Regions from separate parts of the Homo sapiens genome. Here all the other regions are linked to region 6. Evidence: promoter capture Hi-C in 16 types of primary human blood cells and fetal thymus (Javierre and others, 2016). All regions are on one chromosome and are shown on one strand. The core of a region is centred on a gene start or on the middle of the fragment in contact, and the rest is flanking DNA. Distances in the headings are between cores, read along the strand shown. Region 1 overlaps LOC107986749 (a long non-coding RNA gene). Region 2 overlaps AKR1D1 (aldo-keto reductase family 1 member D1). Region 3 holds the start of LOC124901753 (a long non-coding RNA gene). Region 4 holds the start of CREB3L2-AS1 (CREB3L2 antisense RNA 1). Region 5 overlaps LOC124901752 (a long non-coding RNA gene). Region 6 holds the start of TMEM213 (transmembrane protein 213). Region 7 overlaps AKR1D1 (aldo-keto reductase family 1 member D1).

What was found. Contacts are between HindIII fragments. The CHiCAGO score rates a contact against its expected background, and 5 or more counts as called.
Region 1: a fragment that was not itself captured here is called in contact with the fragment with the promoter of TMEM213 in region 6 in 2 of 17 cell types (total CD4 T cells and total CD8 T cells); the score reaches 5.3 in total CD4 T cells.
Region 2: a contact is called between a fragment that was not itself captured here and the fragment with the promoter of TMEM213 in region 6, in 1 of 17 cell types (erythroblasts). The highest score is 7.1, in erythroblasts.
Region 3: a contact is called between a fragment that was not itself captured here and the fragment with the promoter of TMEM213 in region 6, in 1 of 17 cell types (erythroblasts). The highest score is 9.2, in erythroblasts.
Region 4: the fragment with the promoter of CREB3L2-AS1 here is called in contact with the fragment with the promoter of TMEM213 in region 6 in 1 of 17 cell types (fetal thymus); the score reaches 6.3 in fetal thymus.
Region 5: a contact is called between a fragment that was not itself captured here and the fragment with the promoter of TMEM213 in region 6, in 1 of 17 cell types (erythroblasts). The highest score is 6.4, in erythroblasts.
Region 7: a contact is called between a fragment that was not itself captured here and the fragment with the promoter of TMEM213 in region 6, in 1 of 17 cell types (erythroblasts). The highest score is 5.8, in erythroblasts.

What each region holds. Positions count from the first base shown.
Region 1 is chr7:138,164,775-138,168,456 of GRCh38, reverse strand. It overlaps LOC107986749 (a long non-coding RNA gene), which reads right to left. Exons shown (of 3, transcript XR_001745033.3): 3 at 2,972-3,682. Among named protein-coding and RNA genes, the nearest start is that of MIR4468, 43 kb to the right of the region's middle. RefSeq lists an enhancer at 3,443-3,682. The HindIII fragment of the contact is 153 bases long and covers 1,977-2,129 here.
Region 2 is chr7:138,108,116-138,111,880 of GRCh38, reverse strand. All of the region lies in intron 7 of AKR1D1 (aldo-keto reductase family 1 member D1), which reads right to left. Among named protein-coding and RNA genes, the nearest start is that of MIR4468, 14 kb to the left of the region's middle. The HindIII fragment of the contact is 4,177 bases long and covers 160-3,765 here.
Region 3 is chr7:138,063,876-138,067,405 of GRCh38, reverse strand. It overlaps LOC124901753 (a long non-coding RNA gene), which reads right to left and starts at 2,397. Exons shown (of 2, transcript XR_007060553.1): 1 at 2,091-2,397. The HindIII fragment of the contact is 1,589 bases long and covers 615-2,203 here.
Region 4 is chr7:137,951,731-137,955,239 of GRCh38, reverse strand. CREB3L2-AS1 (CREB3L2 antisense RNA 1) reads right to left here and starts at 1,892. Exons shown (of 4, transcript NR_161346.1): 1 at 1,716-1,892. The region is part of intron 1 of CREB3L2 (cAMP responsive element binding protein 3 like 2); the gene reads left to right. The HindIII fragment of the contact is 9,042 bases long and covers 1-3,509 here.
Region 5 is chr7:138,017,985-138,021,640 of GRCh38, reverse strand. LOC124901752 (a long non-coding RNA gene) reads right to left here. Exons shown (of 3, transcript XR_007060551.1): 3 at 1-454. Among named protein-coding and RNA genes, the nearest start is that of CREB3L2, 18 kb to the right of the region's middle. The HindIII fragment of the contact is 2,682 bases long and covers 480-3,161 here.
Region 6 is chr7:138,795,902-138,799,566 of GRCh38, reverse strand. It overlaps TMEM213 (transmembrane protein 213), which reads right to left and starts at 1,573. Exons shown (of 3, transcript NM_001085429.2): 1 at 1,381-1,573. The coding sequence starts at 1,462. It overlaps ATP6V0A4 (ATPase H+ transporting V0 subunit a4), which reads left to right and starts at 1,371. Exons shown (of 22, transcript NM_020632.3): 1 at 1,371-1,533. RefSeq lists a silencer at 1,309-1,603. The HindIII fragment of the contact is 4,060 bases long and covers 1-2,565 here.
Region 7 is chr7:138,088,490-138,092,585 of GRCh38, reverse strand. AKR1D1 (aldo-keto reductase family 1 member D1) reads right to left here. Exons shown (of 9, transcript NM_005989.4): 2 at 3,818-3,985; 3 at 702-818. It also overlaps the pseudogene RN7SKP223. Among named protein-coding and RNA genes, the nearest start is that of AKR1D1, 14 kb to the right of the region's middle. The HindIII fragment of the contact is 6,515 bases long and covers 1-4,096 here.

The sequences.
Region 1 (3,682 bases), core at 804-3,303, 630 kb after region 6:
ACAGGCTGGCTGGCTTTGCTCATTCGTGGGTGTGGGCCAAGATAACTTTGGGAGAAACTTAGTTTATAGTTTAAATGATAATAACCTTCCCCCAAAACTAAACGATTCTTGTAAAACTAATGAAAGGCCATGAAGTTAGGAGGATGAGAGGGGCTTAAATTCTAAATAATTACCAGCCATTATTATGGAGGTCGTAAGATTTGCAACTTCCCCAATTACTCTTGCAGACAACATCACTATTGTAGAAACTAAGACTGGCCTTTTGAGATGTCTTTTCAGGTTTTTGCATTTCTGACAATGGATGGCCCCACCTGGACCTGCCAACCAGTCCTGTGGCCCCAACCCAGGAACTTACCCACCATAAGAGGGCAGCTTTGATTCCCTATGATTTCATCTCTGACCCAACCAATCAGTATGCCCCTACCTTAGGCCCCTGCTCATCAAAAGATCCTGGGAAAAACCCTAATCTTTGAGCCTTTGGGGAGATTGAGTTGAGTGATAACAGTCTCCTGTGTGGTGTGGCCAGCCTTGTGTCAATCAAACTCTTTTCTTTACTGCAATGGCATGGTCTCAGAGAGTTGATTTTGTGTGTGCAGCAGGCAAGGAGAACCCATCAGGGAGTTACATAATTTGGATATATGGGTGAAGGAAGTCCTCTCCTCCATTCTGAAGATTTGAGGCTGAAAGTCTGGGGAAATAAGCTGGCAATAGACAGATTAAAAGGAGAAAAAAATATATATATACATTTTATTAACATGCAGAAAGGCATCACATGGAAGTTAAGAAACTACCCAATAACTCAATGAGACCTAAAAGCTTTTATATTCCCTTCATAAGAGAGAGGGAAGGGGAGTATGTAGGCAACCTAGGGAGAGTAAATGATTATGAAAAGTACGAATCAGCCTTCAGAAGAATAGGTTATATCCTGTCTGTAGGAGGTGCTAACCTCCAGCTTTTTCTAGGTTTGACTTCTGTTGTGTGTTAATCTTCACGGATAGATAAAAATCCCCAGGAAGCATTTCTTGACAATTGGCTTCCTTCTGGAGAATCTGCACTTAGTCAGATAAGGGAAATTCAGGAAAAGCCCCTCTGTGCGTTTGGCATTTCCCAAATGACTTCAGTTTGAAGTAATCAGCATACCAATGCTGCATATTTTGGGGTGATATTTCTGAACTCTCTCAGGAAAAATATACTCCTGGATGGTAGGTTAATATTTGAAATTGTCAGTTCAGGCTTGGCTTGGTGGCTCACGCAGGTAATCCCGGGACTTTGTGAGGCCAAGGTGGGTGTGGATCACTTGAAGTCGGGAGTTCGAGACCAGCCTGGCCAACATGGCAAAACCCCGTCTCTACTAAAAATTCAAAAAAAGAATTAGCTAGGCATTGGGTTCATGTCTGTAATTTCAGCTACTTGGTGGGGGCTAAAGCAGGAGAATCGCTTGAAACTGGGAGGCAGAGGTTGCAGTGAGCCGGGATCGTGCCACTGCACTCCAGCCTCAGCAACAAAGTGAGGCTTCATCTCACACACAAAAAAAGAAATTCTCCATTCAGAAGCCACATTCCAGAAGGATTAGATTATGGCTCCAGTCGTCTTTATCTCATATCAATCCCAGGGGGTTTGTTAATTAGCATAAGGGATGTTAGAAATGATTTTTTACTGGTAAAATGAATTCAATTTTATGTGGATTGGATAAAAATGTCTTATGGATACTCTTGCCTTTGCATAAATGAGGTGTAAAAGTCCAGCTAGCCTGTCTATTCATTTTGAATTATGTCTCCAGGCTTGAAATTCTAGACTGTTTGAATTATCTCTCCAGGCTTGAAATTCTAGACTGTAGTGAGAGAATTTTTCACCTGACTCTCATTTGAGAGTTAGTTAATCCTGCTCCAAAGCTGGAACATGGTCCTCCTGTCTCTGACGCTCATAAGGTTCTGTGGGAACACTGAAAGGTCAGAGAGCTAAGACTTCATCAAGCTTATAAAACGGGTAGTATGACTATTTGGAGGGCCTGATTGCTAATACATATTTATACCCATGGCTGAATGAGGTCTGAAATTTGCTTTCATTATAACATACCATTTGGAATTGAAGTCTCTATGGTTGTCACCAAATTCTAATTACTGGAAGCTTTGGAGAGCTAATCATAAAGCAACTAATAAGGGTGTATGACCAAATTGGCTTAAGTATCTTGAAAACAGCATTGAAGCTACTTTTTTTTTTGAGATGGAGTTTTGCTGTTTCACCCAGGCTGGAGTAAAGTGGCACAATCTCAGCTCACTGCAACCTCCATCTGCTGGGTTCAAGCAATTCTCCTCAGCCTCCCAAGTAGCTGGGATTATAGGCACCCACCACCATGACCAGCTAATGTTTGTATTTTTAGTAAAGACAGGGTTTCACCATGTTGGCCAGGCTGGTCTCGAACTCCTGACCTCAGGTAATCCACCCCCTCCCCCGCCCTTGGCCTCCCAAAGTGCTAGGATTACAGGCATGAGCTACCGTGCCTGGCTGCAGCTACTTCTTTATATGATTCATGGCTTTTGGCCACAAATGCATGCAAGTAACTAGATGAATACGTATATTACTTGCATGTGCATTAAAATTATTTCTTCTTTTTCAAATTATTCCTTCTTTGCACCAGCTAGAATTTAAATATATCTACCTGATTCGGAGCATTTGGCAGAGATATTAGAGATGGAACAAGATCCAGAGAGGGTCTAATGAAATAATAATTGTGGTGGCACATGCCTGTAGTCCCAGCTACTTGGGAAGCTGAGTTTGGAGGATCACTTGAACCTGGGAGGCAGAGGTTGCAGTGAGCCCAGATTGCACCACTACACTCTAGCCTGGGTGACAGAGTGAGACCCTATCTCAAAAAAAAAAAAAAAAAAAAAAAAAAAAAAAAAAGAAAGAAGAAAGAAAAAACCTTAATAATAATTATATAATTATAATTATAGTAAAAGTAGCAAGTAGCTTTTTCCTTTTTGCAAAATTAATTCTACCTTTCAGCATGTACAAAAGTACATTCTAGAAAGATTAAAGAAATAGATATAAACACCATAAAAATCATGGAAGAAACACATAATATTTTAATCTTGGGGATAAGAAAATCATCTCAAGCAAGAAACACTTGAGAAAAAAATAATTTTTGCTCACTAATCTCTAGGTTCATGGCTGAGGCCCCTATAACAAAATACAGATTCACAAGAGAAAATCATACACATATTATTTATACGTGGTATGGAAGCCTTCATAAGGAAAGGAAGACCTCCCCCAAATGCATAAATTTGTATATTCTTTATGCTAGGTTTGATGAAGAAATATGATTGAACAAAGGGAGAATGATATCATTGAGAGAGGAAGGAGGAAGAAACCAGTCAGGCAGGCAGTTATGGTGGGTCCTTGGTTGAATCTTTTCAAACAAAAGAACAGCCAGAAAAATCAAGCTGCAGGCACAGATAAGGGAACTTGCACAGCGGCACTTGCCTAAGACATGCCCACAGCCACACAGATAAGAAAGCCTACACAGGTGACTTGCCCAGACATGCCCGTAATGGAAAATTCCATCCCCTGACACATGTGCAGTAAGGGCAACAAAGCAATACGGAGTAACTCAAGCTAAGGGCCTACATGTGCATTAGGAGGATGGGGTGGAGCTACCAGAAATTCGCATCTCATGCAAATG
Region 2 (3,765 bases), core at 999-3,498, 690 kb after region 6:
CATGTTGTGGTATGTAATTTTGTCAAGCATATTTAAAAAAAATCAACACTGATTCACTGTTTCTTCTGAGTTAATAAACTTGCAATTGTAACCTACATTTTGTTGAGAATAGAAGTGAACTTACTTTCATAAACTTTGGTTTCGATCTTAATATAAGCTTTCAAATTCACCCTCTCTACATTATTTCTGTGTCATGTTTTTTCTTGTCGTATGTGGATTAATTTTCAGTGGTCTTTTTTTTCTCCCATGGCACAAATTATCCTAAGTGAATGAGGATCTCATATTACAAAACTGAGCTCCTGATAGTTCTTCTCAAACTGCTTCCCCTACAGTTTTCCCTTTCAGTAAATGTTTGAAGAAGGAGATATTGTTAACTGTATCAGATGTGGTTGAAAGACCAAGTGGGACAAGGACTGAGAATTACTGGATCTAGCAATGTGGAGGTCACTGGTAACTTTGACAAGGGCTGTTCCAGTGGGATGGTCAGGGTAAAAGTTTGGTTTGAATGGCTTCAAGAGATAGTGGGGGAAGGGAATGGGAAGCAGCGAGAACAACTTCTCTTTCCAGATGTTTGAAACAGAAGAGAGAAGTGGATAATACTTGGAGAGGAAAGTGAGTCTAGGTTGGATTTTATTTTTTAAGATAGGAGGTTACTACATATGTGAATGTTGGTGGGAGTTACACAGTAGAGAGGAACAATTGCTAGTGTAGGAAAGAGAGGGGGATGTTTGAAATTGAGGCTATGGAGGATTTATTAGGAAGTTGTTATTGCAATTTCCAAGGGCTAGGCATGGGAATTAGTGGCTGAAATATATAGGACAAGATTCTTATGGGAGAGGAAGTCAAAGAGCTGTCGGATAAGGGTGGAGAACGACTGGTGTGGATGTTGAATTCACTAAGAATTATGAGAGGAAGAGTGTTGGAGAAAGTGAAAGTGAGCCCAGAGATAACATCTTCAAAGAATGGAGGCCAGTGGATGATGGCAACAAAGCTGGACCACACCTGGTATAATTTCTTTTTTTTAAAATTTTAACTTTTAAAATATCCTGGCTCCGTATTAGCTTTCTTCATGTTTACCTTTAATTTTATCTAGTTTTTAAACTCATGGTTTTTTGTTTATTTGTTTTGAGACAAAGTTTCACTCTTGTCATCCAGGCTGGAGTGCTATGGTATGATCTCAGCTCACTGCAAACTCCGCATCCCTAGTTCAAGCGATTCTCCTGCCTCAGCCTCCTGAGCAGCTGGGATTACAGGCGCCCATGACCATGCCCGGCTAATTTTTGTATTTTTAGTAGAGATGGGGTTTTGCCATGTTGGCCAAGATGGTCTCAAACTCCAGACCTCAGGTGATCCACCTGCCTCAGCCTCCCAAGGTGCTGGGATTAGAGGAGTGAGCCACCGCACCCAGCCTAAACTGATGATTTAACTTAACTTTTTTTAATTTTAAAGCAATGGGATCTCGCTTTGTTGCCCAGGCTGCTCTCAAACTCCTGGTCTCAAGCAATCTTCCTGCCTCGGCCTCCCAAAGTGCTGGGATTACAGGTGTGAACCACTGTGCCCAGTCTTAACTTTTTACTACATAGTTTTTATTTTCTTTTGCTTTTCTTTTTTCATCAAAATATTTATTTTTCCCTTTATTCTTTATGCTTTATTGATCTTTGCCATTCTTTTAAAATATTTCTAACAGTTTATTTTACCTTCATTCTAAGAGAGCATAATTTATTATTTTGTTGCTCCTTGCTTTCATACCCAGCAAAATTCATGGTTATTGGGTGAGTCTATTCCCTAAAGAGTGAGAATTGGCTGTGATTTTCATTCTCATTTTCCTTCTAAATCTGTATCCGTTTTTTTCTTGGAATATGTGACCTCTGAGTTCCATTCTTTTATTATCAAGGCTATGGAAACATATGGAATATAACATAATTAGTTACAATGAAAATTTCAAGGAGAGTGGCATTTTCTCTGGTACAAAATTGCGATTTGCTAGATGCTATAAAGTCCAAATGCTTTCCATCGCAAAGGTCACTTGTAACACTCCTATAATTTTTGAACAGCAAAATTTTCAGTCCTCAAAAAGTCCATCAAAATGTGTTTTAATCTTCAATGAGCCTACACATTAGTAATGCAGTTGATCTCTTTCTAAGATTGTGGAAAAGAGTGTCAACCACTTTTTAGGATGAGGCATTTTGGCAAATGTTATTGTCAGGAGTTGATGTAACTATTCAGCATCTTTTCGCCTTTTTTCTTTTTACGAACTTTCCTTCCCCCTTCTAGTGGAGCTGTCTGTTAACTTCTTCAGCACAGGAATAGGGATATAGCCCTGGGGTCAGGGTATCCTACTCAGTGGCCACAGTGGGTAATATGAGGGTGACCTTCAGGAGCTAATCAGGGATTGATAGAGACCCTGATAGAAGACTTTGTTTCTGATCATCTTCACTCTTCACTGAGTATGAGTAATTGATTATCCTGGAGCTGTTAGGAATTGTCTGTGCCACCATGTGGGTGGAGAGAAAGGAGGGAGAGAGAGAGAGGACTAAATCTCTTTATAAATCATTTGAGTACCTGTGTCTAGCCATTTCTGATCTACTCATGGACTTTCCAGTTATGCAAGCCAATAAATTATCTTTTATTTTTTGCTAAAGTTTGAGTTGCATTCTATCATGTAGCAAAAAAGCTCTGAAGATGTAATTGTCTAATATTGTGGCTATCTTCCTATGTCAGTACTTGTATTTTTTAAATGGCTATATGATATTTCAGTGTACAAATATGTCATAGCTTGTTTTATAAAATCCTGTTGAAGATTGTTTTGAGTTTTTAAAAAATTACAAAGAATTCTATAATAAACATCTGTCTGTGTGTGTGCACCCATGTATATATGTGCAAATACATCTATAGGGTAAGACTGCTGAGTCAATGGATAAGTGTATTTGAATTTATTTAATTTGACAGATAACATTGTATGTTTTTATCATATACAACATGATGTTTTGACATACATATAAATTGTGGAGTGGTTAAATCTAGCTAATTAACAAATGCATTACCTCATATAGTTATCATTTTTGTGGTAAGAGCACATAAGATGCACTCTCTTTATGTTTTTCAAGAATACACTATATCATCATCAACTATAGACACCTTTTTGTACAATAGATCTCTTGACATTTGTTCCTTCTAACTGTAATCACAACTTTTTTGACCAACATCTCCTCATAGCACCCTCCCTTCAATAATCTCAGCCTCCGGTAACCACTATTCTACTCCTTACTTTTATGTGATTAACTTTTTTAGGTTCCACATATAAATAAATCATGTAACATGTACATTTGAATTTTGATGGACATGAAATAATTTAACCTACTCTTCCATATCTCATACAAATTAATGTTTCTAACAATAGTGTGTCAAAGCGCCTGTTTCCCCAAATATTACCAAGTATTTTGATTATTTTCTGATATGAAGGGACAACTAGTATCTTACTTTTTATTTATCTTTAATTATGAGTAGGGCTAAACAGGCAATTTACTTTTGAAATGTAAATTAGCTAATGGGTAATTAATTAATTTTGTATGGCACTTTTCTATGGTTGTGTTTACCTAGCAGTTTAGTCTTTAGTAGTAGCGGAATAAATGAATTACCCCTTTGTCTAGTTCTTTCTTCACTTGGAAGTTACAACGTAAGTCATAGATTACTTATAGAGGGAAGTAAAGGCAATTAGCATTCATGAAGTCTAAATGGTCCTCTTCAATAATTTTCAAATTTGTC
Region 3 (3,530 bases), core at 160-2,659, 730 kb after region 6:
CAGCTTGAGGTCTACCAGTGAAATGGAAGTCCCCTGATCTAGGAAAAAGGATGTATGTCTTTTGAACTGAAAATATGAATGCAGGGATTACTATCTTAGAGTCTCACCACAGTGTTAATTAGTAACAGTACCTGATACAGTCCTGTTAGTCAAAGCTCAAGGCAAATCTTCCTTTGCTTTCTCTTCCAGAAGACAAAATCTCCAGGTTTCAGGCTCAAAGATTGTGTAAATGGTTACTTTGAAAAGGCAGCTTGTATCCGTTTAATGATAAGATGTAGTATTTAGTTATGTCAACTTGCAGTGGGGCAAAGACTAGGATCAGAGCAAAATTCTGAAATGCATGGCATGGTCTGTTATTAACTCTTAAGGGGAGAGCCTATGTCATGAAGGTAAATGGAATACTGTAGGAACTTACATGTAAGTTCCAGTGACTCTTAGAACTTTGACAATTTTTAGTTTTAGTAATCCTTTATTTTCTCTACATTTTCCTGAAGATTGGGTATAAGAACAATACAGTTTTTGAGTAAAAGGAAAAGCATTCAAAGTCTTTAATGATGGTCTGGCAAGAAAAAGTCTCAATCCATCCTAAAAATAAGTAAAGAATGACCAAAGCTTGCTGGGAAATATTGATTGGACCAATAATTGCTCTTTCATTTTATGCTAACTGGCAGATCCACTTGAGGTTAGTTAACTCAGTTATCTGAAGTCAACTGACTTTTGAGAAAGGCTTATATGCCAAGAGTGAATTCGAATCAGTAATAGCATAGCTTGCCTGACAATCTCCAGCTTTTATGTTTAAGTATGAACTACCAATGAACATCATTCAATTAGGGTTATCAAAAGGTACATTAATTATTTTTATCAAGTGTTTGATTCCTGAAGGGATCCATAGGACCCAGTTTATACTTTATTACAGGCAACAAATAAAGCAATAGCAGGAGAAGAAAATGCATTGGGAGTGTCTAGAGATCTCAGGTGAAGACTTCCTTACTTTCACACCACATGGTTGTTCTGATTATGCTTTGTCTTCAGGTATTAAAACACCAGTGACCTGTGTGAGCACCTTGGTACCAGAAAGCCCAGAGCCTGCTCAAGGAGGGTGTGTCTTACAGTGAGCTAGTTGCATAGACATATTCCAATATGTGACCAGACTTAGTCCCTCAAGCTCCACCGAAACCAGTGGAAATTATAAATGCAATTATTAATACTAAATATTGCTGACAGGCTGGTACATGCTACCCTGAAAACAACTCACAGATCCATGGTTATGTAATATCATTTACCTTTAATTAATACATATTTAGTTAATACATTCCCTAGTATTGACAAGAGTCGATGTCATTCTCTAGGCAGTTCTGGAGATAAGCATTTGTCCTTATCTCCAAATAAGAAGGTCAATAGAGGTTAACCCCTGCCATACAAAGGGAATATACAAAGGTCTGTATAGGGCACTGACAATTTCCTAATACAGGTTAAATAATCAAGGCATTTTTCTTGCTTGAGTAGGGAAGGAGAGTTGTTGGGTCCAAGGTACTAAAGCTGTGGATAGTTATATATGAAGGAGAGACAAACAATGATGCCATAGTCTATCTCCAAGGCATTTAATTTATCCCATAAAGTGCATTGTAATTGTTTACAATTGACAAGAATATTTACATCTAAAATACTGGGAAAAAAGTCTTTTAATAGTTATTTTGGCAGTTGTTATTATTATATAACTATGATTAATAACTATTATTATATAACTATTATATACCTATTTAAACATAGGTATATTTCTTTTAACCTGAAAAGTACAAAACTGATGGGTACATATTTGTATTAATGTATTTTACTTATACATAATTAATCTGGAAAGGTGAACTTTTGCTGTGATTTATCAAGCTACCCGTCTTTCATCTTAAATTTTGCACAATAGTTTCAAATTGGTGAAAATTTGGAGAATGACAAATCTGATTATTTTTACTTATTTTTAAAATAAATCTTTGTGGTACCTAGGGAACCCTTCGAGAAATTTAATGATAGCTTAGTCATAAAAAGACATCTTCACTGAAAAGATTTTCCAAGCTGAGACATCTGTGAGTACTCACCAGACTCCAGCGTATAGTGATGCAATGCTGTGATTTACAGAGGAAAGACCGAGTGCAGCAGAAGAGTTCAGCCAAGCATTAGGGGTCAGAGAGATGGCATCCCAGGCTAAGCTTCCCAGCATCTGTATTCACACGCAGCACACCAAGTTTCCAGATTGAACCGCCAAGATCTGTGTGAGGAATACATTAGCTTAGGCTACAACTCAAAACCAAGCTTCCCAGCAGGAATTTTTCTCTCTTGAGCCACATAATCAAGCCTAGCTAACTCAGCTGGTTTGACCTGTTGCACATCATCAGTAAAGAAACTGACCTTGGGGGTGCGGGATCACCAGGGGGAGCTTTACCCTTTAACCAGCATATCATAAAACTGCCCTTATCTTGTCTGAGTGTCAAAATGTCATCCAGGAGACCTAGAGACAAAGAGTTTACAGGTGGAAAGTCCAGCTGTAAATTAACTGCATTGTCCATATCCTCTTATTTTTCTGAATTTGGGGCTTAAATTTGGGGAATGCAAAATGAAGAGTTTTCAGAGAAGAGGAGGTATAAAAACATGAGACAGTCTCTAGAGGCAGGTAATAGTTACCCAAATGTTTGTTCTCTCCAGGCAATATTTGAAAACACACCATAACAAGAAACAATAATTAGTAGAAACTTTTAATTCTTTTAAGCTGTGAGGGTTTTTTTGTTTTGTTTTGTTAAAATAATTTAAAAGCATGTCCAAAGGAATGAGGGCTAATAGAATATTATAGTGCTAAAAAAGGTACATCTGTGAGAAAAAATGACTGAGTCATTTTACAGAAAAACACAAATTATAATTTTCTCCTTTTGGTTCACTATTCACGTAACAAATTGTAGTAAATAATTTACTAATACTGCTCTATGTGCAAGAATTTAGACATAGAGAGATAAATACACAAACAGATGATAAACATAAAGATTTTAACTTTAGTCTTAATATATAATTTTATAAATATATTAAACAAAATAATGCTTATTATATTGAATTTACCATTTTAATTTTCTGCAACAATTTCCTGAATAGAGAAATCATTTTTTGTACCACCTATATATTTATATATTTTACATATTTTTGTATCTATTATACCATTTACATTAATTGCCATATTTAACAAAAATAATTCTATTGCCTTTAGATAGAAAAGAAAATTAAAGAACATGAAGCCAAGAATTGCCTTTTTTTTCAGTGAATACGCATGTTAGATTATTAACTCAAATATAAAGTGGCAAAAATAAATATATGACATTATTCTAAAAGCATTTACACAAACTTTTAATTTAGCCATTTTAAGAAGTAATGGCAAATTAAAACTATGTTTAGTGACTAAATTTCTGTATCTTTTTCTTACTAATATACTTTTTGGGCATTCAGTGATAACTTATTAATGAGCTAAATTTAACTTTTATCTAAGGTACCAAGCT
Region 4 (3,509 bases), core at 643-3,142, 840 kb after region 6:
TGGATTCTTACTGTACTCATTGAAGATGGAAATGGGCAAGGATTTCAGGGGGTTTCTAATGATGAAGTAGTAGCGTATCTGTAACCACTTATAAAAAGGTCAGCCTGGTGAGAATTAGGGGTCAAGAGAGTGATTGGTTTATCATGGTCATTCATTATTTACTTTTAAATGTAGGTTAACGTGGTGGGAGAATGGTGTCTCTACCAGTGGCTCTGTCCAGGGAACTTTAGAGTTTTATGTTAAATAAGAACCCAGACTCTGGCAGTTACAGGACCTGGTTTCTTGGGTCTGGGTTCTCAGTCACTGGGAGTCTTGAGTGACTAATTACACTTGTGCTTAGGCAACGTTTGTAGTCTTCTTTCTATTCCTTTGTAGGTTGGGCAGTTGTTCCGACTTCTGTGGGACTGAGAGATATCCCAGGATGTGGAACTTTACAACCAGAAAAGTCTGAGGCAACTGGGGCAGCTGGTCTTCCTACTTTCTAGCCTCCATGCCTTCCTCTTCTCCTCTTACCTCCTCTCTCATGGCCAGACAATACCATGAGCATTCCAAACTCTTTAGGCTGCTGTTACAGATAAACTTTACATGTGGTGGACCTGGGGAGTTTGGCAACACAAAGTTATTCATTTTAAAAAATAGGAGTGCTCCTAGGGTAGTTTGGACGCAAGCATAAGCTGCCTTTATAGAGCTTAAATGTGTGCTGCCTGCAGTGCTCCTGATGATTTCTTTGTGGTTCTTTCCTTTTTGCTAAAAGTTTTCTGAAAATAGAAAGCCGTGGCCATTATAGTTAGAACAGGGAGCAAACAGGAACCTCTGAGAGGATCCCTAGCCCCCTGCCCCCTGCCTGGGTCCACCCCTACTTCTGGGTAGCTATCTGCTGTCACCACCTGCAAGAGCAAGAGTATTTGTAAGCTGTGGATTATGTCCCTAGGATTACTAGTCTTTCTTTTTCAGGAAAAATAATACACAATTCAAGCCAAATGTAAACAAGCACTAAGATCCTACACTTTTGTTCTCGGTGATCATTAAATGCTGTGGGTCATTTCACAATTTCAGTTGTCATTTTAGTTATCCCTCATGCGTAGACAGGACAGGTACAACCTGTATCTCAAGGTCAAAGGGCAGGACTCTACTTATGTTTGTGGAACTTCAGAATACCAGACAGAAACCCATGCAGAGAGGTAGCCTCTCAAGATTTTGATCTTGTCTCCTCCGTGAAGAATGACATGAAGAATTTCTCTTTCCCTGTGATTCATCAGGAGAGTGCTGTTTATTCTTCCAGGTTTACAGCTCACACACCCCTGCTGCTTTTCCCTCCTGGAGAGGTTACAGGACCTTGTGATCTTACTGGGCTGTGTGAAAAACCCATGATGATGCCTTTCCCTTCTGCAGATCTTTGTTTGACCGTCTGTTTTAAGTGCCCCTTTTTCTCTTGGTTATCTAGCTGCCAGCTGTTTACAAACTAGTTTGCATCAAGCGGTTGCCTAGAAACCATCATGAAAACAGGATTAGGCAAAGCATTTTTTCTATATTACAGCTGCTTTCTGATGAAGGCTTGGCATTAGAAAGAGCTCAGTGTCTACCCCTTCCCAGCCTTAAAACACAATGCAAGTGAAACAAGGACTTTCCAACAGAGATGAAATGATTTCTCTAGAGTCACATTCTGAGACCGTCATCACCCACCCAACTCTCCCCTCCTCTGCAAACCCGCATACCTTTCCCTTTCAGGAGAGTCGTGTGTTGGGGATGGTTGACGCTTTTTAAAGAACATTTAACATACACCAACAGCAGGTCTCAGATACTGTTATTTATCCATCTATTCCTCAGGCCTCAGCTAGACTGGAGTGGGTGCAGAGAAGTTAGAAGGCTCTGGCAGTAATTTGGTCATAAGGAAGGAATGTGTTATGTGGAGTAGCAGTTAATCAACTAAGCGGTAAGCAGGTTTTCAGTGAAACACCACCGGGAGCTAATCCCACTTAACATAAACTACAGTGACTTAGAGGGAACAAACTGTCTAACCCTGAGCTCTCTTGTTTCCCAGGAAATAAATCAGGATGAAGTCAAGAGACATCAAGGAGTTTACATTAAAAGGTCTTACTAAGTGATTGAAATATTCTTAAACTGGCTGGGCACAGCGGCTCATGCCTTTCATCCCAATACTTTGGGAGGCCGAGGCAGGCAGATCACTTGAGGTCAGGAGTTCGAGACCAGCCTGGCCAACATGGTGAAACCCTGTCTCTACGAAAAATACAAAAATTATCCAGGCGTGGTGGCAGGCGCCTGTAATCCAGCTACGTTAGAGGCTGAGGCAGGAGAATCGCTGGAACCCGGGAGGCGGAGGTTGTAGTGAGCCAAGATCACGCCACTGCACTCCAGCCTAGTTGACAAGAGTGAGAGAGAGAGACCCCGTCTAAAAAAAACAAAAACAAAAACAATTATTCTTAAACTCCTCCTGGAGTAGGATAGATAGGTAAATAAGTGATTATATCTGGATTTGGGGTCAAAGGAGAAAGAGGAATCAGGAAAAACTTAAGAGTTAGTAAGTCAGCAAATACTTACTGAGCACTTCCTTCTAGGTGTGGTAGAGTTGGGGTGGGGTAGGTAGGGTGGCTGTCAAACACTGAGCAAGACAGACAGTCCCTGTATATTCTAGTGCAAAGGCGGGAAAGCAGGGGCCAGATCATAAAAACTGGAACAGATAAATCAGTAAGCTAATTTCACAGACTGGCAAATGCAGTGAAGATGACAAAATGGGACCTGTGGCTACCGTAGGGGTCATGGACACTGTTTCTCTAAGGTGACATTTGAGTTGAAAGGCTGAGAGCCTGAGGGCTGGGCGGGGATATCCTCTCAGCCATGGGGAAGTTGGGAAGGAGGCTGAGTATGTGGAAGAGATGGTTAATAGAAATCAAACACAAGGAGAACCTTCAAAGTCAGATGATAAATCAGGTCCATACTAGGAAGATCTTTTCCAAGTTTCCCAGAAAAGTAAATCAAACCTCACCAGGCCTCTAGATGGTTTTAATTACCTTTTTGTAGGGCTGCTGAACAGGGTATTAGTCATATACTTGACAATAAGGACTTGTGGATTTTTCTCAGAGATATTAATGGATGGGAGTAAATTTGCATTTGAAATTTTATTTTTAAATTACGAAAATAACATATTACCAAAGTTAGAGAAATAAGAAAAGAAAAACTCTTATGTTCCCACTATCCTACCAGCCCTATTGTCTATTTTGTATATTTCTTGAAGACTAGGTCTCACTCTGTCACCCAGGTTATAGTGCAGTGGCGTGATCCTGACTCACTAGAGCCTCCACCTCCTGGGCTTAAGCGATCCTCCCACCTCAGCCTCCTAAGTAGCTGGGACTGCAGCTGTGCACCACCACGCCCAGCTAATTAAAACATTTTTTTTGGTAGAGACAGAGTCTCCCTATGTTGCCCAGACTGGTCTCGTCTCGAACTCCTGGGTTCAAGCAGTCCTTCTGCCTCACCTCCCAGAGTGCAGG
Region 5 (3,656 bases), core at 571-3,070, 780 kb after region 6:
AATACAAAAAAACTAGCCAAGGATAGTGGTGCATGCCTGTGGTCCCAGCTACCTGGGAGGCTGAGGTGGGAGGATCACCTAAGCCTGGGTGGTTGAAGTTGCAGTGAGCTGTGATTTCACCATTTCACTTAGCCTAGGCAACATAGGGAGACCCTGTCTCAAAGCCAAAAAAAAGGAGGCCCAGTGTGGTGGCTCATGTCTGTAATCCCAGCAGTTTGGGAGATTGAGGTGGGTGGATTTCTTGAGCTCAGGAGTTTGAGACCAGCCTGGGCAAACATGGTGAAGTCCCATCTCCACCAAAAAATACGAAAATTAGGTGGGCATGGTGTTTTGTGCCTTTAGTTCCAGGTACTCGGGAGGCTGAGGTGGGAGGATTGCTTGAGCTCAGGAGGTGGAGATTGCAGTGATCCAAGATTGTACCATTGCACTGCAGCCTGGGTGACAGAGGGAGACCCTGTCAAAAAAAAAAAAAAAAAGCTTCATTAAACCTTATAAAGAAATCTATCCAATTTTAATTAGTTGACCATAAGGTAAAATTCCCATAAACCTTTTATAAGCCTTTACAATATTTTGTTAAAGAAAAAATCAATGCTCCAAGAATACCCTGTTATCCAGACACATGGGCCCAGATTCTGGCTCTGAATTAGGTGTGGCTTTATTTTAATACTGAATTTACAGACGAATTGAAAAATATCCTTCAAATTTTAGCCAACTTGCTCATACTCACAGAACTTCCTTTACAAGATCAATCTTTCACAATTTACAGCTTGTTTAAACCTTCAGTTTTCTCCCGTTATTCTTTTAGGTTAGGACAATCCTTAAAACCTTCTGAATTAGACAAAATTACATTGGCCGGGTACAGTGGCTCACAACTGTAATCCCAGCAATTTGGGAGGCCAAGGTGGGAGGATTGCTTGAGGCTAGGAGTTCGAGACAAGCCTGGGCAACATAGGGAGACCTCATCTCTACAAAAAAATTTTAAAAAATTAGCCAGATGTGGTGGCACACGTCTGTAGTCCTAGTTGCACATGGAGCTGAAGTTGGAGGATGGCTTGAGCCAGGGAGGTCGAGACTGCAGTGAGCCATGATCATGCCACTGCACTCCAGCCTGGGTAACAAAGCGAGATCCTGTCTCAAGAAAAATAAAACCGAAAAAACCCCTAAATATTCCCTTTAACAAAGGCCATACTTCCATGCCTTCTTATAACCTCTTACCAAAAGTACGCTCTACTTTCCTTATAGACCTTGTGTGTTAAACTGTTTCTCTAGTAGTTTCAAGTACATGTCACAGTGTTAACTCTTTGCAACTTTTATTTTTGGCAAAAGACCTGGTAAGTAAGTAAGTAAGTAACTGCGTACGGGATTGTAGAGCTCAGGAGTAAGACAGAGCTGCAGACAGTGTCTGACTCTTCCCAGCCTAAATCCTATCTAAAATCTGTTAGCTGTAAAGCGGACAAGTCAAATGATTATCAAAAATGTCGGCCGGGCGTGGTGGCTCACGCCTGTAATCCCAGCACTTTGGGAGACTGAGGCAAGCAGATCACCTGAGGTCAGAGTTCGAGACCAGCGTGACCAAGATGGAGAAACCCTGTCTCCACTAAAACTACAAAATTAGCCGAGCGTGGTGGTGCATGCCTGTAATCCCAGCTACTTGGGAGGCTGAGGCAGGAGATTCACTTGAAGCCGGGAGGTGGAGGCTGTGGTGAGCCAAGATCACACCATTGCACTCTATCCTGGGCAACAAGAGTGAAACTCTGTCACAAAAGAAAAAAAAATTGTCATAGAAGCAGTTTATGACATTAAAGCATCTAGCAGACAGTATCTGACCTGCCTAATTTAGACCAAATGTATAAATTTTGAAGACATCTTTTATTTTACCAATAATCTTGAAAACTATATTTATTTACCAAAGATTACTAAAGTCATGTGAACTAAAAGGCATTAAATTGCCTATTCTACTGACAAAATATTTGATTTAAGCACTTGTTTTTCTTTAAGTCAAATAATTAGAGCTCTTTTATATAAACTTCACATACACAATACATATAAATACACAGACAGACAGAAGATGATCTGGTAGTTTGAAGACTTTTCATTTGCCAGATTTTAAGTTTCTTCATTGGATTACTGGCTTCAGGGTGGAGCCCTTTGAGGAACAGGGCCGAGAAAGCGTGGAGTTTCTAGGGCCTAACATTTAATCGTGTGAAAAACAGGCATCACTGGAAAGCAGAACAGATTTCCAAAAACCAAGGATTCCATTTTCACACCGAATCCTGAGTCCCCCAAAATTGAAGGAAATGATACAGGAAAAGACAGTACAATGGTTTCACTGGTGCATTTCACTCCAAGGACATTCTCCCGAGGCTGACGGGCAAACCAAAGCCAATCAGGCCATTTTATAATCGGCACATCCCCCATTCCATGCCTTCTAGGTGCCAATAGAGCATGTTTTTCTTCTTGTTTAAATGCGAGAAGAAAGAAATACCAGCCTGTAGTAACGCCCACTCACTGTAAGCAAGTGCCATTAGCCATCCCTAAAAATATATTTGTTACCTAGCTATTACACACCAAGGCTGAAAGTTCTACTGTAATGCAGAGTAATTTCTGATGCCCCTAAAAGTCAAAAAGCTCAGGTAACACAATGCAAAACGGAACAGAGCCTTAGATTTTGATAGGGATCTTTCTACTCACAATTCTTGGAGTTCCATGAGGAAAACAGAGGCTTCTCCTGAAACGGTGTCCGCAGTGCCTCCTCTGTTTCTCCCAAGGAGTCCCAGCCTATCAGAAATTACCTTAGGCCCTCTCATGTGAGCATTGAGGGTAGCATGAAGACAGACAGAGTTCAGTTGACTGAATATATGTATATATCTATCATATATAAATTATTATATAAAAATATATAAAAATTATATATGTTATATTATATGATTGTATATTATATATACTTATATAATATGTATATAATACATATCAGCATTTAGTTAGGCTGACTTTTAATGATAGAGCTTTTTTTTCTAAAAAAAAACAAAAAACAAAAATCTTTTAAAATCCCTTATTACCAGATTCTAGGTGGGAAAAACAGCTGACACCTCTGGCCTTTAGGCTTTTGTTTTTTGTTTTTTGTTTTCCAAAGATATTCTCCCAAGTGAAACCAATAAGCTTTAATTAAGGTTACAGCTTAAGCATGGATGTATGAGGTATCTCCAAAGAGATGGCAAACAGTTTTCACAAGATCTAGAATTCTCTGTAGGGTAGCTCAGAGAAAAGAAAATTCAAGACAGGAAACCAGAAGCTGTCCATGGAGGTGGAAAAGAATCAACAAATGGTAAGTCCCGTAACTATCAACCAGAAAGGACTTACTTCCAAAGGCAGGAGTTGAACCTAGGCTGTCAATGTGAAAGAGCAAAGCCTTAGCTACTGAGTTAGCACAAGGTGATTGCTATTGCTTTTTCCAGGAGTCTAGAGCAGTCACTGTTGAGCTTGCAAAGGATTTTAACCATTCAAGAGAATTAAGGCTAGACATGACATTATGTTGTGTCCTTTTTAGGGCTAAGGAGTCAAAGCCCTATAACTTAACAGCAGAAGTACTTTAAAGGTAATACAGAAAGTTACATGGATGCAATAACCTTGTCAAATCCAGAATTTGAATTAACTTT
Region 6 (3,665 bases), core at 324-2,823:
ATTGCCATTGTTATAGGTGAAAATTGTTCAATATCAGCAATTTTCTGTGGTTCAAATGGAATAGCCCCGGTGAAAATTCCTAAGAATTTAAACATCGCCCTCCTCCCTTATAAGCAGAGCCAGAAGCGAGGGAGGGACTGGCCCTACTTGGGGCTATTCCACAAGAAAAGCTGCTGGGAAGACCCAACGATTCAGTGCAGTTAAACTTGTCTTCTGATTCTGAGCTCCCATCATAAGCAAGGCACTGTCGGGGTAAGTAGAAAGAAACTCAGCACTCTTATTTGGGGAGGGGTGAAGTTGGAAAATAAAATGAATGTGCTTACCATAATTGCTGACATTCACTGTGTGTGTTCTATGGGCTATTTCTAAGTTCTTTACATGAAATTACATCAATTCGTCTTGACAAGCACTATGATTGTCCCCATGAGATAAAGGAGGAAACTTGGCATAGAGAGGTAAAGTCATTTGCTCGAGGTCGCATAGCTAGTGAGTCATGGAAGCTGGACCTGGGTTCAGGCTCAGCGGCTCAAGAGTGCACGTCTTGAACCTCAACACCAACACCCCTGGCAGTGGCTACAGAAGAGAGTCTGAGGATGAGAGGGGCAGACACAGGACTTTGGGGGCAGGGTTGGTTTTGGGAGCAGGAGTGTTGCAGGGCATAGAGAGTGTGGTGGTGTTCTGAGGTGGCTGAGAACAAGATCAAAGCCAGGAGCAGAAGATGGTAACCAAGGTCCCTCTGCCGTGAGTTGCAGAACCCGGCCTGGCAGGGCAAGGCAGGGGATGTAGATCAGCCTTCCAGCCTCCACAGGAAAATGGGGAGATAACCCAGCATTTCCAGTGCCCGGGGAGGCAGGAGGGTGGGAGACAGTGAATGGCAGCCCTCCTGGCAGTCAGGTTTTGTGAAAGTCGCAGAGAAAGTACAAGGGGCAGGGAGGGATGGAGGACTTAGGAAAGGGAAGGTCAGACACAAATGTGCACAGGGAGGATTGCAAAGCACGACAGCCCAGTGGGGCTGAGAAGGAGCCTTCAGGACACAGCGGACCAAGAGATATCATTTTGGTCCCCTGATGGGTGAGACTCCAGCAAATAACTTTTTCCTTTCTTTGTGGCAAAGGCCAAGAGAGGTGGCTGCTCCTGCCTTAGCTGAGGAATTGAGTATCTGATCTCCGTCTCAGGCCAACCTAAGACCCCCCCTGCCCCAGCCCCACCTCCCACCCCCTGCCTAATCCTTCAGATGAGAAAGTTCTGTTTCCTCCTTCCTTTGCGCAGGACCAACCCTGGCCAAAGAATCTTCCCCCTCCTCCTTCTTTCCCTCCCACCTCTCTTCCCTCCTTCCCTCCCCCTTCCCAGCCTGGCCATGAATAAAGCTCATAACGCTACCTGCCGAGCAAGCCGAGTGGAGGGAGGCAAAGGCCAGGCTGAGGATCAGGGTGGCCCGGGTGGCAGCGGGGAGGCGCTGCATGCTGGAGGCTGTGCTGAGTGCCCGGTGCAGGTGAGCCGGTCCTGCGGAGTTGTGCCGAGTGCCTGCTGCAGGTGAGTCGACTCCCACCTGCAGGAGCTGGAAAGCAACTCTGCCAGAGGTGAACTTATGCTGGGTGTTTGGGGGAAACACCATGGGGTGGAGCAAAGGAAACTTGGCCTGTCACACCTTCTCTCACCTCTCTAGAAGGGAAGCCAAACCGTTGGCTGAGGAAGGAAGGGAGGGGCAAGCTGTGCCCTTCTCCCCTGAGCGCAAATATTGTCCTTATTGAGAAACAAGGGGAGGACAAGAGAGATCTGTGTCATGCTGGTTCCTGGGACATGAGTTTGCTGCCTCTCCCATCTGCAGGTGTAGCATGGATGCTCAATTCCATTTGGGCCAATATTCACTGAGCACCCACTATGCTGAAGTTGGGAGATACCTGCTGTCGAAGTGCGTTAATTACAAACACGCATCATTCAACCCCAGAACCGTGTTTGAGGAATGGCTTGGGAGGATAAAGCACTGTGGGTTTCAACAGTGGAGGCCACATCTGCTGATGGGATGCTTCAAGAAGAAAATGGCATTTGAGGTTGGGCATGGGGGCTCACCCTGTAGTCCCAGCACTCTGGGAGGCTGAGGCAGGTGGATCACTTGAAGTCAGGAGTTCAAGACCAGCCTGGCCAAAATGGTGAAACCCCATCTCTAATAAAAATACAAAAATTAGCCAGGTGTGGTGGTGCATGCCTGTAGTCCCAGCCACTTGGGAAGCTGAGGCAGGAAAATCGCTTGAACCCGGAAGACAGAGGTTGCAGTAAGCTGAGATGCTCCTGACCCTGCATTCCAGCTTGGCCGACAGAGGGAGACTCCATCTCCAAAAAAAAAAAAAAAAAAAAAAAGAAAATGGCATTTGGCCTGGGCCTTGAAGGATGGCTAGAATTTTGACAGGGGGAGAGGGGAAGATGGCATTATAGGTAGAGGGACAGATGAGCAAAGGTCCAGAGGTAAGGAAGTGTCAGAGGGTGGCTGTACCAGCAGCACCCAGAAGCGCAGGTGAGCCAAGGCATGTGAGGTGGGGAGGCAAGAGGAGAGCTGTGGGCTAAGCTTCTGCGTGCCTGGTAGAGGAATTTGAAACAAAGTCAGGAAGCAAAGGGGAAGGTTCTGTAGAGATTTTGAGCTGAGGAGTAACTTGACTAGAGCTCTGCATTCCGTCTAAAACATTTATTGAAGACCCACATGTATATAAAAGGTCTCATCCTAGGCACTGGAGACTGAGATGACTGAGACACGCCTCTTCCCCTTGAGAGCACAGTGCAGCAGGGAACCAAACCCGGAAGAAAGAAATTTGATGCAACCTGGCAAGACTCAAATAGGGGTACCTTCCACTGTGATGGGAATAAAAAGGAGGATGGGATGAACTCTGCCTGAGAGGTATAGGGGAAGGATTCACAGAGAAAGTGACATTTGGGCTGGGTGCTGAAGTTTGTATGTGCAGATTAGAGTTGATGGGCTTTTCAAGTCAAAGGAATAGCACCTATAAAGGCGAGGGAATCGTCTGTGTGCACACAGCCTGCCATGTGTGGAAGTGTTCCTGCGCATGAATGGGCCTGGTAAGGGTGAGGGGTGGACTCCAGCTCTGTGGAAAGACATAGAAGGCGTGAGTAAGCCCCAAGGAAAGATTTCCTAGTGGAGTGTAACAGCCCAGGGGAGGCACTTTTTTCTAATTGGCTCTAAGATATAAAATAGTGGTGGCCTATGTTCCTGGATTTGGGGATAGGGCCAACGTGCCCTAGGAAGGGTGATTTTCAGTCAGTGCACAGAAGTCCAGTTTAGGCATTACCACTAGTTGAACATTAAACAGTTGCATGCCAGGCCAGGCTCTCGGTGTGGGGACCTGGGGGTGAGAAAGACCACACAGCCCTTGTGCTCAAGGAACTCAAGGTCCCCACAGAGAGGACGCTGCTTAGTAGAACAAATGCTGTCCTCGATGTTTTCCTCACAAGTAAACCCTGCAGTGGGCTTCACAGGGCAGGACTGATTTATCCAATGGGTACTAGGGATAACAGCGGTACGTGGAATCCCCAAGATTTCCAAGGATCTCAAAAATGTTTGAGACCTGAGAAAATATTCTCAGATCCAAAATTTGAAGAACAGACCAGGCATATTGGCACACGCCTGTCATCCCAACACTTTGGGAGGCCGAGGT
Region 7 (4,096 bases), core at 419-2,918, 710 kb after region 6:
TTTATTCATGTTATTACAAAAGTAATGCAGTCTACCATGGTAAATAAAACCTTACCACCTCGGTTTGTGTAAGTACACTCTATATGATGTTTGCAGAACAACAAAGTCACCTCATGACACATTTCTCAGAATGTATCCCATTGCTAAGCAACACATAATTGTACACTGGGTCTTTCTAAATTTTTAAGACTTAGGTTAGAAATCTGACATTTGAACAAGAGTCAGCATTAACAAAGTGAGGATGAGGGCGGAGATTGTGACTGTGTGAGTGGGAAGAAGGGTGTGTGTCTCAATGGTGGGCTACAGTTAGAGGACTACATGTTGGTTTGATGCAGAGAGCTTAAACTATAGTTGTAAAAACATGGTATAATAGAAATTGCATTGAATTAAAAAATCAAGAAACTTGGAAACCAAGCCTGAGTCTGCTAACATAATCTTCTCGGGTATTTGTCAGACTAGGTCAGTACTCTCTGATCTGTGGTAACAAAACACCACAATATTCTGTGGTGCCAAGTAATACGCTAGCTTCATGCACATAGCTATTGGCTCATGGTGCAGAGCTTCATGCACATAGCTATTGGCTCATGGTGCAGAGCTTCATGCACATAGCTATTGGCTCATGGTGCAGAGCTTCATGCACATAGCTATTGGCTCATGGTTGCCAGGGTGCAGAGACCTGACCTTTGGGCATCTGAACTCACCTTAAAGGCCATGGGTACTTCAATGATGTAAAGATCCACATAATCTAGCTGGAGGACCCTGAGTGTCCTCTCCAGGGTTGGGCGGACCATCTCTGGGACATGATTTGTAGCCCATAGCTGAAAGAATCAAAGAGGGAGAATTAACTAATGTCTACACGCTTTTTACGATAAGGCAGCCCCTTTTTCTTTGTAAAACACTCGTACACATTTTTTTTTTTTGAGATGGGGGGTCTCACTATGTTGCCCAGGCTGGTCTTTAACTCCTGGGCTCAAGCGATCTGCCCACTTCAGCCTCCCAAAGTGCTGGGATTATAAGCATCAGCCACCGTGCCTAGCCGCTTGTACACATTTTATTCACACATTTCATTTCACAAAAATATGTTTATGATGCAGTGTCATCTGAGTATAGGATGAGCTGATAAAACTCTTGACACTCAGAGCCTAGCTTGAGAGCTTGTTTGGAGGTTCTAGTAGGGGAGTGCAGCTACTCACATACACTTGACCTAAAAACCCTCCTCCTTCATCAGGGAAAGCCGTCCTCTTCCACTGAGAGTGCAGCTTCAAGAGGTACAATTGCCTAGACAGCCAGATCAGCTGAATTAGCCCTGGTGACTAATGGGGTGACATATGTTACAGCCAGATCACCCTCACATCTCCAGACATAATTTTATGCAAATCTACCACAAGAGACTTACAGATCCTCCTTGACCACAGAGTACCTAATTTGATGGCAGTCTTCCCCATTTCCGGGTGAATTTCCTGATGCTTAGTGCTTGCATTTTTCCTCATTGTATAACTAGGGTTACACAATGTTCTAGATGTCCTGACCTAGCGTGATACTTTATTGTCATGCCACTCTGATAAAATGAGCAAGGAATATGGTTATGCGTGTGGCTTCACTGGGTCCTTCACATTGTGACAGGTGGTGTGAAAGCCTGGTGAAATTTTAAATTAGTGCATAGATTTAGATTTGCTTTCACTGATCTTTTGTTCTTATTTGGTCCTACTTAGACCCCAGAGCAATTAAATTACTCTTTCGCTAAGGCATTACATAATGAAGGATCAAGGTTTGGTTGATCCTACTGGAGCATGTGTACCCTTAAGTGTCTGAGACATACGGTGCCAAGGTTGCTTATACCCACAGGACAAATTAGTACATCTTTTGGAATATCAGTTTTGCTCACAGATTTTTTTGGGGGGATATAAGTTTAGAATCATACTTTTCTTTTTTCTTTTTTTTTTTTTTTTGAGACGGGGTCTTGCTGTGTTGCTGAGGCTGGAGCGCAGTGGCTTGATCTTGGCTTAGTGCAACCTCTGCCTCCCGGGTTCAAGCGATTCTGCTGCCTCAGCCTCCCAAGTAGCTGGGATTACAGGCACCTGCTACCACGCCTGGCTAATTTTTGTATTTTTAGTAGAGATGGGGTTTCACCATGTTGGCCAGTCTGGTCTCGAACTTCTGACCTCAAGTGATCCTTCCTCCTCTGCCTTCCAAAGTGCTGGGATTACAGGCTTGAGCCACTGCACCCGGCCTGAATCATACTTTTTTTGGTCACAAGAAAGGGTAAGCAAAATTGGTAATATCTGATTTTTTCCTCTGTTGGACAATGATTTTTTTCTTGCCTTAAAAACACAGAGAAAATTTAACATGAAGAGAGTAGTGGAAAAATGTGTTACGTGTGTTTTGATTGCTACTCTGGGTCTCTTTGGTGTTCCTATTGCAATCCCATCTAAGTGGAAATTCTGTTTGATATTTATTTTACTTTCTTTTTCATTCCTGGGCATAGGCTGATGATATTTTAATTTACTTTTATTCAACAAACATACATAGTATTAGCTTTGTGCCAGGTTCGGTGTGAGTGCTTTGTAAATGTGAACTCATAACAACTTTATGAAATAGTTGACATTATTATCCCCATTTTACAGAGAAAAAAAATTGAGGTCCAGAAATGCTAGGCAACTCAGCCAATAGTGACAGATCTGGGCCTCTGACCTGGGCAACCTTGCACCAGTCTAGGCTCTTAATCACCCCCACATTGCCTCTCAGGTGCTGCTGAGCTGCAGTGAAGACAGTCCTGATGAGGCAATAGCAATGGCACATTACATGAACTCAGCTGCACACACTGTTTCTGTTTACGTAAGTAAACACCAATATTTCGCCCAAGTATGCTTTATTACATACAGCCCATATTGACATTGTATACGTATAAATATTGCTTTCTATTCACAACTGTACTTTTTGGACAATTTAAAGGATTAAAGTTAAAGGACAATTTAAAGCATGTTTTGACCACCTTTTCCTTGTATGCTAACTTTAGCCTCTATCATAGTAAGAAATGACTCCTATAATATGAGTCATTAAGCAAAAGGCTTGCATAATGTGCCTGCCCAGGAAGCCTACATAGCTGGCTTTTGGATTGGTGACCTTATGAGCTTGTTTTTTTTTTTTTTTAATTTACGTTTGTTTGCTTTTATTAAACAAAATCTGAATACCATGTCTGAGTTAATTACATTTGCTCAAATGCTTTTTTTTTTTTGAGAGAGGGTCTCGCTGTGTCACTCAGGTTGGAGTGCAGTGATATGAACATGACTCATTGCAGCTTTGACCTCCCTGGCTCAAGCCATCCTCCTGCCTCAGCCTCCCAAGTATCTGGGACTACAGGTGCAAGTTACCATGCCTGGCTAATTTTTGTATTTTTTTTTGTAGAGACAAGGTTTTGCCATGTTACCCAGGTTGGTCTTGAACTCCTGAGCTCAAGCAAAACACCTGCCTCGGCCTCCCGAAGTGCGGATTAGAGGCGTGAGACACCGCACCCAGCCAAATACATTTTTAAAACCCTCTTTCTCTCCCCTAAATGCTACTCTGCTTACTTCTCCCAAACTAATAAATAATTCGTTAATATGATACAAGAATGTTGAAAATCCTATTTTGCATGATTTTGGTCTCATTTGAACACTTATCTTTCAAACAAACAAACAAACAAACAAACCCAAACTGTTATTAAGTACTGCCTACTCATGAGTGCAATTACACACACACACACACGGAAGATGAATAATAAAATGAACAACTGAAACCTTCTCACTGTCCCCAGTGGAGGCTGAAGGCAAGATCTCACCTTTCCACAGTAGAAGATATCTTCCCTCCGCACCTTTCCTTCTGCTATCTTCTCCCTGATGGCCTCCCCAACTTCGTGTTCATTTTGGTAGATGTAGGCCCCATCAATATGTCGGTACCCTGTGTCAATAGCAACCTTCACCGATGTTGCACAGGCTCCCTTAGGGGTCTGAAGTGACAAAGAGGTTGGGTTTGGGGAAAAGAGAAATGGTCTTTCCTTTAATAATCATTAATCAGGACATTTTGCATGTACATTCCTTTACAGCTAAAATGACACATT